Regions from separate parts of the Homo sapiens genome. Here regions 2 and 3 are each linked to region 1. Evidence: promoter capture Hi-C in 16 types of primary human blood cells and fetal thymus (Javierre and others, 2016). All regions are on one chromosome and are shown on one strand. The core of a region is centred on a gene start or on the middle of the fragment in contact, and the rest is flanking DNA. Distances in the headings are between cores, read along the strand shown.

Region 1 (4,174 bases), core at 768-3,267:
GTTTCTGGTGACCAGGCCCCATCCAGGAGCCCACCAATAATTGCCTTATTAGAACAAAAGATGATCCCGTCACCCAGGAAATTACAAGGAATTTAGGTGCTCTGCGTTAGGAACCAGGGCAGATTTCACAATATTGATCCGAAATGTAAGCTCCACCAGGGCTAGACTCTGCCTTGTTCACTGCTATATCCCTGGGGCCTACAACAATGTATATATGGTAACCACTTATTAAGCATTTGTTGTGTGAATAGTTATAATAAAAATCCATCCTGCCTAGGCATTCTGGCTTTTTTGAATCGCTCTTCCTTCTTTTCTACCCTCTTCCGACACCTGTTTCTTGTCAAGCCTTTCATTAAGCTACTCCTTTTCAGCCCTGGGCACAAGAAAACAAAACTGAGCTAAACACTTTTTTGGTGAAAGCCAAAAAACCACTCATGAATGCTAATTATCCAGCATTCGCCTGTTTACATGTACGTATGATCAGAGGGTACACTTCATCCTCTTGGGTATTCATTCATTCCCATATTCACACATACTTATTAGGTGTCTATTATGTGGCTGACACATGGTAGGGGTTACAGAGGTAAGACACACAAGGTTCCTGTCTACGTGGGAAAGAGACAATAAACAACACAGTGGTAGGCACTGTTAAGAAGAGAAGAGAGAATATTGGAAGTGAGGCACATTTCAGTTACAGTGGACAGATGACATTTGAGTAAAAAACTGAATGAAGTAAAGAAACTCATCATGTGACAATCTCAGTGAAGAGTATTTCAGATTGATGAACTCACACTCCAGGTTGAAGAACAAGAGGCCTGTTTAGCTAGAACAGTATGAAAGAGGTGGAGAGGGGCAGAAGATGAGGTCAGAAACATAGGCAAGGTCTGCTCAAGGGTCTGACGAGATTTTATTCTTAATGTGATGGGAAGCCACTGGAATGCTTCAAATACAATAGTGACTTAAGGGGTTTACCTTTTAAACAAGCTCTCCAGCTCCTGAATCAGAATACATGAAGTCTCCACGTGTGCTTTACAAATATTTTTGTAAAGAAGTCTCTACTAGGTGCTTTACAAATATTTTATCATTAAAAAGTAATTACTTGTGCTAACTTTGAAATCCCAAATAAGTGGATGGGAATCCTGGCTTCACTACCTACCAGCTGTGTGATCTTAGTCACCTTAATATCCCTGGACTCAATGTCCCCGTCAGTAGCAAAGAAATTATTATAATTTCCTCGATTACTTGTGAGATCAGGGATTATTCACTCATTTGTTTATTCGAAATATTTAGTGTGCCAGGAACCATGCTAGTTGCAGAGAAAAAAAGGGTACAGCCTCTGCTATCAGGAACTTACCGTCTAGCGGGGAAGACTTGATACAAATCAACCACGTACAGCCGTGTGCAGGCTAAGACAGTTTATAAAAGGATGTGGTAAGGGAACAGTTTGGGAAGGCTTCTCTGAGCAAATGAAGTTAGTGTATACAAAACTCAGTATACACTAGGTATTTGTATTATTGCTACTAGTCGCAGGTAGGGTTCAAATCCTGGCTCTGCCATTTACTAGCTTTGCAAATTTCTCCTTTTGAGCCTCAACTTCCATGTCTGAAAATGAGGACAACAGTATGTAGCTATAGGGCTATTGTGATAATTACATGAGATACCCCCTGTTAAGATTACTGTCCAGTGAATGGCAATAGTCAGCACCCATTGAATGTCCACTCTTAATACTGTTGTTAATTTTGAGTCCTCTGAATGGAATAAAAGACCGCAGCCAGGTCTGGAACTCCGCTGGCTCCCCCTTCTTACTTCCTCTCGTTTTCTGGGGTCGTCAAATTCCCACCACCCCCGGTCGCCAAGAGCCGGCCCACATCACTGACCTTCTCAACCTTCTTCGGCCCCTTCACCAGTTCATGCCTCTTGGGGATTGTTCCCCCGTCGCAACCCATCGCAGGACGGGAGTCAGAGCCAGCAGCAAACCCCCAAAGCTGTCACTTCCGGGATTTCCGGCGAAATCCGCAGCCACTTCCGGCGCACCGCCGTGACGCAGCACGCTGGTCGTGGCGTAGCGGGGCGGGGCGGGGCGGCACGCTAGGCGCGGCGTAGCGGGGCAGGGCGAGGCCGTTACCAAGTGCCGGTTGTCATGGAGAGCGTCGCTTGGAGGCTGGGCGTGGGCGGGTTTCCTCGTTCCCGTGAGACCCTGGGTTTCTGCTGCACAATCGGAATCACTCGCCCACGCTCCGGGAGGGCAGCGAGGGCGTGGGCGGCCCGTGCGCATCCACCGCTCTTTGACCCTATCCCACGCCAGCTTGTGTGGCTGCGGAGCGGGCACATCCCTGGACTGAGAGCGCCTTGAGGAAAAGGGCCGCCCTCCTGTTTCTGCGATTAAGGATGCCTATGAACGGAATCTGCTGTATCAATGGACATTTTTGTGTTTAAAAGGAGAACGCATCTTTCTTGAGCGCCAACTGTGACTCAAGCACTCACAACAAATCTTGTGAAGTGATGTTACAACAGATTCTAGGAAGTAAGACCCTCCCTTAAGGCCTGGAACTTTCTGGTGTTGCCATGCATATTGTAGATGGCATGTGTGTGAAATTTTGCATACAGTTTGTGCGTGTGTGTATTTCATTCACAGTTTCCTGAAGCCCAGGCTAAAAAAATTTTATTAACAATCAAGTATCATTAATAGACGATATAATAGTTCTTATAAAATATACACTGATGTTGCCATGCCCGTTCCAAGAGTCAGGCTGTATTTTATCTATAAGAACACAAATCCCTTGCTAAAAATTCATGATTGTCTGTCTGCTCTTAGGCGATTGTCTATCTCTCTGTTTGTTCCTTTAATTATTATAAATATTATGGGAAAGTGCCTATAATCCCAGCACTTTGGGAGGCCGAGACGGGAGGAGCACCTGAGCCCAGGAGTTCCAGGTCAGCCTGGACAACATGGTGAGACACCATCTTGAAAGAAAAAGAAAAATTAGCCAGGCGTTGTGGTAAGCTTTTGTAGTCCTAGCGGCTCCGGAGGCTGAGGGGGTAGGAAGGATTGCCTGAGCCCAGGAATTCAAGGTTGCAGTGAGCTTATGATTATGCCACTGCACTCCAGCCTAGGCAACAGAGCAAGACTCTGTCATTAATATGTATGTATGTATGTATGTATGTATTTGTACATATATATGATGGGAAAATTTCTCCATTGCCAAGAAGGCAGATCTTTATGATTGGATATTACCCTATTGACCTACGTGAAACATAAAAACGCTGAAAATATTTTTTACTTGGGAAGAGTTGCCCAGAAAATACGTGGATGTGGAAACTTCAAGGGCTATATGTAAGCTTGGGGTACTTGTTACTGTGATTAATGAGAATTTTAAAAAATAATCCCTTTAATTAGTTGGTCTCTGATTGATTTATGATTTATTTCTATGCTAACCACAATAACTGTAAGCTCTATGAGGGTAGGGACTTCATTTTGTTTTGTTTTGTTTTAGACAGAGTCTCGATCTGTTGCCCAGACTGGAGTGCAGTGATGTGATCTCGGCTCACTGCAACCTCAACCTCCCAGGATCAAAGCGATTCTCCTGCTTCAGCCTCCCCAGTCGCTGAGATTACAGGCGCCCGCCACCATGCTGGGCTAATTTTTGTATTTTTAGTAGAGACGGGGCTTCACCGTGATGGCCAGGCTGGTCTCAAACTCCTGATCTCAGGTGATCCACCTGCCTCGGCCTCCCAAAGTGCTGGGATTACAGCCGTGAGCCACCAAGCCCGGCCAGGACTTTTATTCCACATTGTATCATCAGTGCCTAGAAGAGTCTTTGGCACACTCAATATATGAGTACATTTCCTCAGTAAACCAAAAGAAAGTACAGATTCATTGAGAAAGGGGTGAAAAGCCTAGTTTTGGCAGATACTAAAACTGGTTAGTACTATTAGAATTCCATTTACTGGTGAGGAAACAGAAGCGTGGAAAGATCAAATGACTCCTTCAAGGTCACATAGGCAGTGAGAGACCCGGGAATGAGTGCTAGGATTAGTTCTTTCTCACAGCAAAGGAAAGAAAGTCAAATACAGAAGAGCAGAAACACCAGCATCTTTAGAAAGACTCAAACCAGTGTTCTTTTCTCATTTGGGGAAGAAAAAACAAAAATAGCGGCTCTTTATTAAGCCATGA
Region 2 (4,174 bases), core at 695-3,194, about 38 Mb after region 1:
GAATTATCTAGCAAACAACTAGAATTCTGTTACCAGGTGACTTTTTTCAATAATCAAGGAAAACAAGCAATTCTAATATTGTTGGTAGCTTATAAAACAAGTGAATTTTATGTATTATTTAGTCAAATATTTGATCTATTTTAGTTTCATCTGTAAAATGTGGATAACAGTATCTATACTCCACAGGACTACCATGAGGATCAAGTGAGTTAATACACATAAAGTGCTATTTAATGTTAATTACTATCTGAAGGGAGTTCCTTGCTAGTAAGTTAAAAAAACAAAACCAAACCTCATTCTTTTGACACCGTTGCTCTCTATTATAGAAAACATAGCAAACATATAGAATCAGAATTGAGATAATTACTTGAAGTGTATTCTTTAAAGCCATCTTCTCCCAGTTCCAGAATCATCCGCTGTTTCCACCTCTCCAACAAGAAAACCTGTTGTTTTGTCATGGTCTGCTGAAGGACTCGGGTCACACTTGGTATCACATTCCTTTGCAAGGGGATTTTCAAAGGAACTGAAGGATCACTTGCATTTGGTTTATCACTTCTCTCTGGATTGAAGATAGGAAACCAGTTTTGTGGCACTCGTCTGTCCTCACCTTGGTTTGGCAGCTTATGCTTGCTCACGGGTCCACAGAGCAAAGCATCTTCCTCCACCGATCCCGGGGTCTGGGCGACGCCTCTGGATGACAAGACAGACTGAACTAAATTAGAGTATTTTTCTTGGTCCACTTCTTCATATGGGTTCACTTTTTTCTTCCGGCCACATGAGTAAGAGGAAGTAGAGAAAGCCACAAGGGCAGCTGATTCCACAGAAAACTTTGAACTCCTGAGCTGCCTGCAAATGGTCTGAAATAACTTCATCTTCATTCAGATTTGTTTTCACTTTAGTCTATTTGCAACGGTCGAAGGCCTTTATGTTTGTATTCCTATTGGAGAGAAAACAACCATCAAAGCGAAAGCTGCATCAGAATGATATTGCACATCAAAATTGTGAACTTTTTCGACATGTTTGGACAGAGCCCTTTCTTAAGAAAGTCGACAGAGCGAGACCCTGCCTCCAAAAAAAATTTATAAATAAATCAAGACTCAATACCCGAAGGACCGACACATACTAAATGCGAATTAGTAGACAGCTTGAGGCAAGACGTCCCAGTTTCTAATCTGCAGGAATGTGACGCCCAGGAAGGGAGGCGTGTGCGAGACACGGAAAAACACAAAGATGGAGCCCGTCCCATGGCGGCCACACAGTCCTAGGTGACAGACGACGACTAATTCCTAGACACCAGGCTCTCTGCTAAGTATTCTGTGTGGATACTTCTCATTTGGTCCTCACACCCTCTACCGTGGGTCTAGAATGAACCCGTTGCACAGACGTGGAAATCGGGTTGGAGGGTCCCGTCGCTCGCCGGTCAGAGCTGGTGGCGGCGCTGAGGTCCCATTACTGTGACCGCAAAAAGTCGCCTCCCGCTCCGCCGTGGGTGCGGACCCCTGGCGGGGCCAGGACGGCGGTGGCCCCTGTGGCAGGAGTCTGGATTAGAGAAAAGACGACTTAAATAAAAGCCCAGCCTACGGCAAGTGTCGGTACCTTGGAAGCCACCACACTTCGCTTAACTCTCAAGGCGCGAACAACCTCTCGCGACCCGTACTTTCATCCGTCCCGCGCTTTGGTTTCGAATTAGGCACAGCCTAAGGCAAAGCAGGTCCAGAATGCCCCGCGGCGCTCACGCCCCACCCGAGGCTTTCGTCGGCCTCCGCCAACGCGCCACCAGTTAGAGGCAGGGAGTACCTCTCCGAGCGGAAGGGCCGGCGTCTCCGAAGCGCGGGAGCCTCCAAATCGCGCCCTTCTGCTCTCACGAGATCTGGTGACGTCAGCGCTCGCTGCCATCTTGGACTCGGGCTGAGTAATAAATTCCCCCCGCACCGAAACGCGGTCTTTCTCTAGACGCGTCTTGCTGGGAGAGTGTCCGTTGCTTCCCGTCCGTGTCGCGGCCCTGCGGTTGGCGGCCTCCTCGTGGAGCGGAGCAAGGGTAGGCCCCACGTGGCGTCTTTGCCCGGCTCCAAGATGGACGGCAGCGGGGACTGGGAGGCTGCTCTGGGGGAGCACGTGGCGCCCTGCTCGCCTGCTCCCGGGGCAGCTGGGATGGTGGCGGAGTCCGGAGGCCTCCTGCCGCCGTCGGGCAGGGAGGCCGGCGGAGGCGGGGCCGTGGCCGCCCCCGAGAGGCGCCCAGGCGGCGGCGGCGGCGGCCCAGCTTCTTCTTTCCTCGCACAGCCAGGCGGCCCCTGCTCGAGTCCCGCGTCGCCATGGCCGCGGTTCCCGAGTTGCTGCAGCAGCAGGAGGAGGACCGCAGCAAGGTGAGGTCCTCCCAGCCTCAGACTCCTGGGCGGGCGGCCCTGCGAGCTCCGGGGTCGCTGCATTCTTTCCCTTGCGCGTCCATAGGCCGTGGCTGCTCGCCGCCATCCCCAGCGCGGGAAGCACCCGTGAGACCCGGGCGGCCCCTCTCCCTGGTCTTCACTGAAGGCTGCCCCGGGGAATCCCTGTGGATGTCCCGGATTCTATTAGGACAGAACCAGAGACGCGGGACCTTAGCCCCAGCTCAGGCGCCGGTGCCGAGCGGACTTGGAGAGATGATCTCTGGAGACCCCGGAATGTTCTTTTTAAAACTTTCCTCGGCTTCGTGGTGACCAGTAGGTGAACGTGAAATTGACTTAACATGCGACAGACCAGTTTGGTTTGTTGCCCCCAAAATACCCTCCTTCCCCCCACCTTTTACTGAGAAGACTTTTTTGGGGGGGGGGCCCAAACAACTTGGGAAATTGCATCAAGCGTCCGAACATGCTGCTTACAACTTTAGAAACGCAAAATGCGTTGTTGTGGGAGTTGTGTAATTTTTAGTAGGTGCTCAAATACTTGCTGAACTTGGTGTCTATTTTTAAGTCTTGCCCATTGATGTAAACTGTCCCTAGGTCACGTGTATCTTGAGGTCTAAAAGATTATTTATGCAATAAATTGAAATTCCCATAGCCAATTAAAGATTCAGACGAGCCTCCACTCTTTTTCATTGGTTCTTTAAATTTGCCTCGGTAGCTTTGCGATGCATGGTTTGCGAGCAACCTTTCTTGCAGAATCGTCAACGTAAGTTTTTCTGACCGATGAAAAAGAACCTCTAAAAATACAAGGCTCTCTTAAAATGTAATTTGGAGCCGTCTTAACTTACACATTTCTTGAGAAGTTAAAGGCACCTCCATAGAGAAACTTGTTCATCTAGTAAGTAAATACCAGAGTTTCAAAGCGGCTGGATTGTTCCAACAAGGGTATCATTGCATTAATTATTAAAATAGAGCTTTCTATACAGGAGGGTGTTGTTTAGAGTGGTTTTTTTTTTGAAAGTTCTTTATTACTAAAACAAAGTGGAAACTTGAGACCACGATTCTTTGTAAAACATTATAAAGGTACTTTTCTCCATAAAGGGTAGATAATGGATTGGGATTTTGGTAGCATTTTATTTTTTCTTTCTTTCTGGTACATTCTTTTAGCTGTCTTGATTCGGAGTCAGCTAGGTAAAAGGACTCAATTGCTTCACCCCACTCTCTGGTAGTACAGTATATTGCAGCTGGTTTTTAAAATGACTTCCACCACCCTGATCCTCCAGCAAAATTGGAGAATGGTTATGAAGGCCATTTCCTGCCTGTTTTAGAGGCTACAGAAACTGTCCGTATCTGTAGCGAAGAGAGTTACATGACATTGTTTTCCTTTTTACATTACAGGAATAAAGAGACAATAAAAATAAATAATTACCCTGACGCGTGGCTTTATTTTTGTTTTCTGATCTCTGCTGATGCTGATAACCTGCTGTGGTCTGGCCTAGATGGTGTTATGGTTAACTGAAAGGGAGTTTGGGGCAAGTATGAAATAATGGGAAACTAAGTCTTGGGCAACTTTTTGCCATAATACAATTTCGGTAGTCAACTGAAATGTTTTGTGTGTTACCTGAAATGTGTGTTACTTAAATTGTTTAAATGCCCTCCTGATAATTTACTTTGGTTTGGAATTCTCCCTAAGGATGGAGTTAATTAAGACTCACTAAGGTAGGGGGACATACTTGATTCTTCAGGATTTTGAATTCTAGCCCAATACTCATTTTGGCCAATTCAGCAAAACTGAA
Region 3 (4,174 bases), core at 1,035-3,534, about 33 Mb after region 1:
TTTGCATTCCATGATTTGAAGAAATTGGAATGAACGCAGTTTTCACCCATGGCTCCAGCAGGCCCAGAATCGTGTTTTATGATTTTGTTTTGCATTACAAAAAGGTGGTCAGGCACGGTGGCTCACGCCTGTAATCCCAGCACTTTGGGAGGCCGAGGCGGGCCGATCACTTGAGGTCAGGAGTTGAAGACCAGCCTGGCCAACATGGTGAAACCCCGTCTCTGCTAAAATACAAAAATTAGGCCAGGTGCGGTGGCTCACACCTGTAATTCTAGCACTTTGGGAGGCTGAAGTGGGCGGATCACCTGAGGTCAGGAGTTCAAGACCAGCCTGGACAACATGGTGAAACCCTTTCCCTGCTAATAATACAAAAATTAGCTGGGCGAGGTGGTACATGCCTTTAATCCCAGCTATTCAGGAGACTGAGGCAGGAGAATCGCTTGAACATGGGAGGCAGAGGTTGCAGTGAGCGGAGATTGCACCACTGCATTCCAGCCTGGGCAACAGAGGAAAACTCTGTCTCAAAAAAACAAAACCAAATTAGCCGGGAGTGGTGACAGGCACTTGTAATCCCAGATGCTCAGGAGGCTGAGGCAGGAGAATCACTTGAACCCAGGAGATGGAGGTTGCAGTGAGCTTCGATCATGCCATTGCACTCCAGCCTGGGCAATAGAATGAGACTCCGTCTCCGATTATGTTAGCTAGCATAACATAATGCTAGCTTATCCATTCAATACTGAAAGGATTGCTTTAGTTGAGTGTCTTAATAGCTTTAAAAATAGAGGTCATAAGACTCACAGACTCTTTGTGGCAATACTAAATGATAAAGAATGAAGGGCCATGCCTGGCAAGGGTTGTCATGCACCTCTACACTTCAAGAAGAAACTATGCCTTAACTGCCACAAGGTTTTTATTCTCTGGCAGCCAAACAAGCACTGGCCTCTAGATAAGCAATATTCAAACAATGTGCTTTTCATCCACCTCCACATGCTGACTGACACGCCCCCTGCCCCAGCCCCACCACTTCCACAAATAATTACTGCTTTGATTGGACCAGAGACTGACTGCAGTAACTTTTTCCTGATGGGAAACAACCGAACAGGGGCTGATTCTGGCGGTTTACAGAGGCTGCACACAAGTGCATCGGTGTCCTGAAAAGATCTTTCAACTTATAGGGTCTAAATGTAATACATGAATACCTGTAAATGCTAAGAGTCCACCCCAAAGTAAACATAGGTCACCTGTAACATGCACGTTTGTCCAGTAAGCATGGGTCAGGACCCGTTTCATGAATATTCATAGCTCTTCCTGTGGCCTGTTCATATGTGTACTTGGCTAAGTCCTTCAGCTTAAATTCCTGTCTTAGGCCCCCTTCCCTCCAGCTGCCTGCCTTTTGAGCTTCTGCCAGAAGCTATGCTTCCCAGCCTGTCAGAAGGGCCACCTTGCAGGTTATCACCGTTTAAAGAAATAAAGCTCTCCTTTCTATGTTTGTGATCTTTTTTTTAAATAATACAAATAGACAATTCACTTGACAGTGTGAATGGCATACTTCACTGACAATGGAATACTATAAAAACAATAATAAACCACTGATAAACATCAACCTGACAAAGTTAAATATAGTGTTTCATGCTGTAGAACTCTGCACGAGAAAAGTACACGGGAGTGAACAATTGTTACGTAAGGGCGTTCACTGCAGTGCACTTACATTAGTGAAACTTTGGAAACAATCTCACCTATAAGGAGATGGCCGAAGAATTTGATATATCCAAGCACTGGATTATTATGCCGGTCATTAAAACAATGTTTAAAAATATGTGTAATAGCTTGGGGAAATGCTCACCATGTTATAATGAGTAAAGACGGTACACTATTTTACATAGGGTCTGATGTGATTTGAAAACAAATCTATAGAAATAGACTGGAAAGAAATGTATCAAATTCTAAACTGCACAAGGAAGAACACTGACGCACGCGCAACGCCGGCGCCCTGCCCACTAGGCGCCCTCGCTGCCCCTCACCTGCACAGCCGGCGCACGCCCACAGGCTCGTGAGGGAGCGGCCGGTGGGTCAGGCTGGGCGGCACTCCTCGCCCATTGGCTGTCCCGGAGTCCGGCCCCGCCTCTCCCCGCCTTCTGGAGCCGCTGGTATAGCTCCTTCCAGGGCTCCTTGGAGACGGAGGGCGGGGCTAGGGCGCCGGAGTCACGTGGTCGCGCCACCGCGCGATTACTAGCTGTCAAAAGAGTCCTCAGAAGTGTCCTGAGCGGTCGCAGGGTAATGACGTCGGCCGTATCGGGGATGCTGGAACCTGCGGTTGAGTGAGAAACCGGCGCCACCGCCTGCGTCTTGGTCTCGGGCTGGTGGCCAGCGGGGTCTGGGCGTGGTTTTACCCAGCTCCTTTGCGAAGCTGCTGTCCTTTCCTCAACGTTACCACCCGGCTGGGCAGCCTACCCTCGGTCAGTACGTCCTGGCAAGAGCGCTTCGGGCGTGGCGTTCGTGTCGCGGGGGCCTCGGCTCAGAAGCGAGGGAAGAGCAGCCCTCAGAGGAGCGGCGACCGCGCTTACCGGGAGCCCGGGTTGGGAGAGGGCTCCCCAGGAGGGGTGTGAGCTCCGAACGAGAAAGAACGCCACCGCCTCGTGGGGTCTCTTCCTAATGTGCAGATTCCAAATCTCTACAATGCTGCAAAAGAGGTTACAGTCCACATCAAATTAAGCATGCCCTAAAGGGCAGCTGGGGTTCAGTTCAAGAGTTGAGTTTTAACACACACCTTTACCTGCCTTAAAATTGGGCAAGGTATCACAACGTTAAACCATTTCTCACAAGGCTCGTTGGTGATGTTTAAGATTTTTTGTTTGTTTGTTTGTTTTTTGTTACGGAGTCTCGCTCTGTCGCCCAGACTGGAATGCAGTGGCGCGATCTTGGCTGACTACAACCTCCGCCTCCTGGGTTCAAGCGATTGTCCTGCCTCAGCTTCCTGAGTAGCTGGGATTACAGGCGCCTGCCACCACGCCCAGCTAATTTTTCTATTTTTAGTAGAAACGGGGTTTCGCCTTGTTGGCCAGGCTGGTCTTAAGTTTTGCATCCTGGCTCCCTCCTCTTACCTAGTCCCAGCCTCTTGTCTACAGGACAAAGCAACTTTCTGCAGTTTTCTGTTTGCTCTTTAGAGAGACGGGGCCCTAATTTGGCAAAGTGGTAGGGGAGACAGGGCTGGTGTTTAAGGTCGACCAAAGCAACATCTAAATCTCTGCTCTTCCCCCAAATTGTCCAAATTAGCAGCAACAGGTGTGCACCTTCCAAGCTTGCAACAGACCACATTCAGAAGCTTGATTTCTTGTTGTTCTGGGAATATCTGGATCAGAGGTAACATGGTTCACTAGGACTCCTCAGCTTCACCCAGTGTCCATTTCACCTCCCCCGGCCTTCCAATGTCTCTTCTTGCAGATTTCTCCAAGCCACTCTCCCCGTCATCTCCTCCACCCCCAGGACCCAACTCCTGCCCCTCCCACCCTAGCCCCTGTTCTCCCTGCCCACCTCCTACCCCACTGGAGTGGCCTTTCATCAAACCTAAACCAAAGAAACCAACAGACCTTGCTGTCACCACTACTCCGGGACCTGGAAGTTAAAGCGAGGGAGAGACGGTGAAACACAGAAAGCAGAACGCCTTCTGTTCTTCCACAACACAGGGTTTGTGGACGTGGCCACTATAAGAACTCGCACTGCGTGCTGATTATACTCCTCAGCACAATTCATTTCTTAAACTTTTTAGAATAATTTAAAATTTACAAAAAGTTGCAAAAATAAAAACCAGTAAACTTTTCACCTTCATCTGCCTTATAATTAAGGCAGCGGGCAGCGCGCTGGACAGAACGGGAGGGGCTTGCGCTTTCCGCCGGTGGGAAACCCCACCCGCAGGGACGAGCCGGGACCATCTGGCCCTACCTGCCGAACGGCCGCTTGGTGGAGATGTGTCCCAGAACCGAAGGAGGAGGGTGCCACGCACATTTGTCTTGCCTTCCCCGGTGGCGGGGGCATGGCAAGGGCGGAGCTTCCCGCTGTGCCCTTGGAGGCCGCCTGCAACCAGGCTAGTGTAGGTGGGGACGCACGCCCTGTACCCTACCCATCCTGCCCATTGCGGGTCTGGCCCGGACCTGAAGGGCAGTAGTTGGGGCCGTCC

The links. Contacts are between HindIII fragments. The CHiCAGO score rates a contact against its expected background, and 5 or more counts as called.
Region 2: a contact is called between the fragment with the promoter of SNX5 here and the fragment with the promoter of RTF2 in region 1, in 1 of 17 cell types (total CD4 T cells). The highest score is 6.4, in total CD4 T cells.
Region 3: a contact is called between the fragment with the promoter of LINC01431 here and the fragment with the promoter of RTF2 in region 1, in 1 of 17 cell types (total CD4 T cells). The highest score is 9.4, in total CD4 T cells.

What each region holds. Positions count from the first base shown.
Region 1 is chr20:56,466,470-56,470,643 of GRCh38, reverse strand. RTF2 (replication termination factor 2) reads right to left here and starts at 2,017. Exons shown (of 9, transcript NM_016407.5): 1 at 1,878-2,017. The coding sequence starts at 1,946. The HindIII fragment of the contact is 9,363 bases long and covers 1-3,006 here.
Region 2 is chr20:17,966,564-17,970,737 of GRCh38, reverse strand. SNX5 (sorting nexin 5) reads left to right here and starts at 1,944. Exons shown (of 13, transcript NM_014426.4): 1 at 1,944-2,363. The coding sequence starts at 2,313. It overlaps MGME1 (mitochondrial genome maintenance exonuclease 1), which reads right to left and starts at 1,720. Exons shown (of 5, transcript NM_052865.4): 1 at 1,597-1,720; 2 at 368-937. The coding sequence starts at 878. RefSeq lists enhancers at 726-855, 876-1,075, 15-1,214, 1,796-2,105, 1,722-2,476 and 3 more and a silencer at 2,106-2,315. The HindIII fragment of the contact is 5,200 bases long and covers 1-4,174 here.
Region 3 is chr20:23,356,237-23,360,410 of GRCh38, reverse strand. LINC01431 (long intergenic non-protein coding RNA 1431) reads left to right here and starts at 2,284. Exons shown (of 3, transcript NR_109884.1): 1 at 2,284-2,456; 2 at 3,274-3,360; 3 at 3,442-3,817. RefSeq lists a silencer at 1,949-2,138 and enhancers at 2,189-2,578, 2,769-2,858. The HindIII fragment of the contact is 4,137 bases long and covers 1-3,300 here.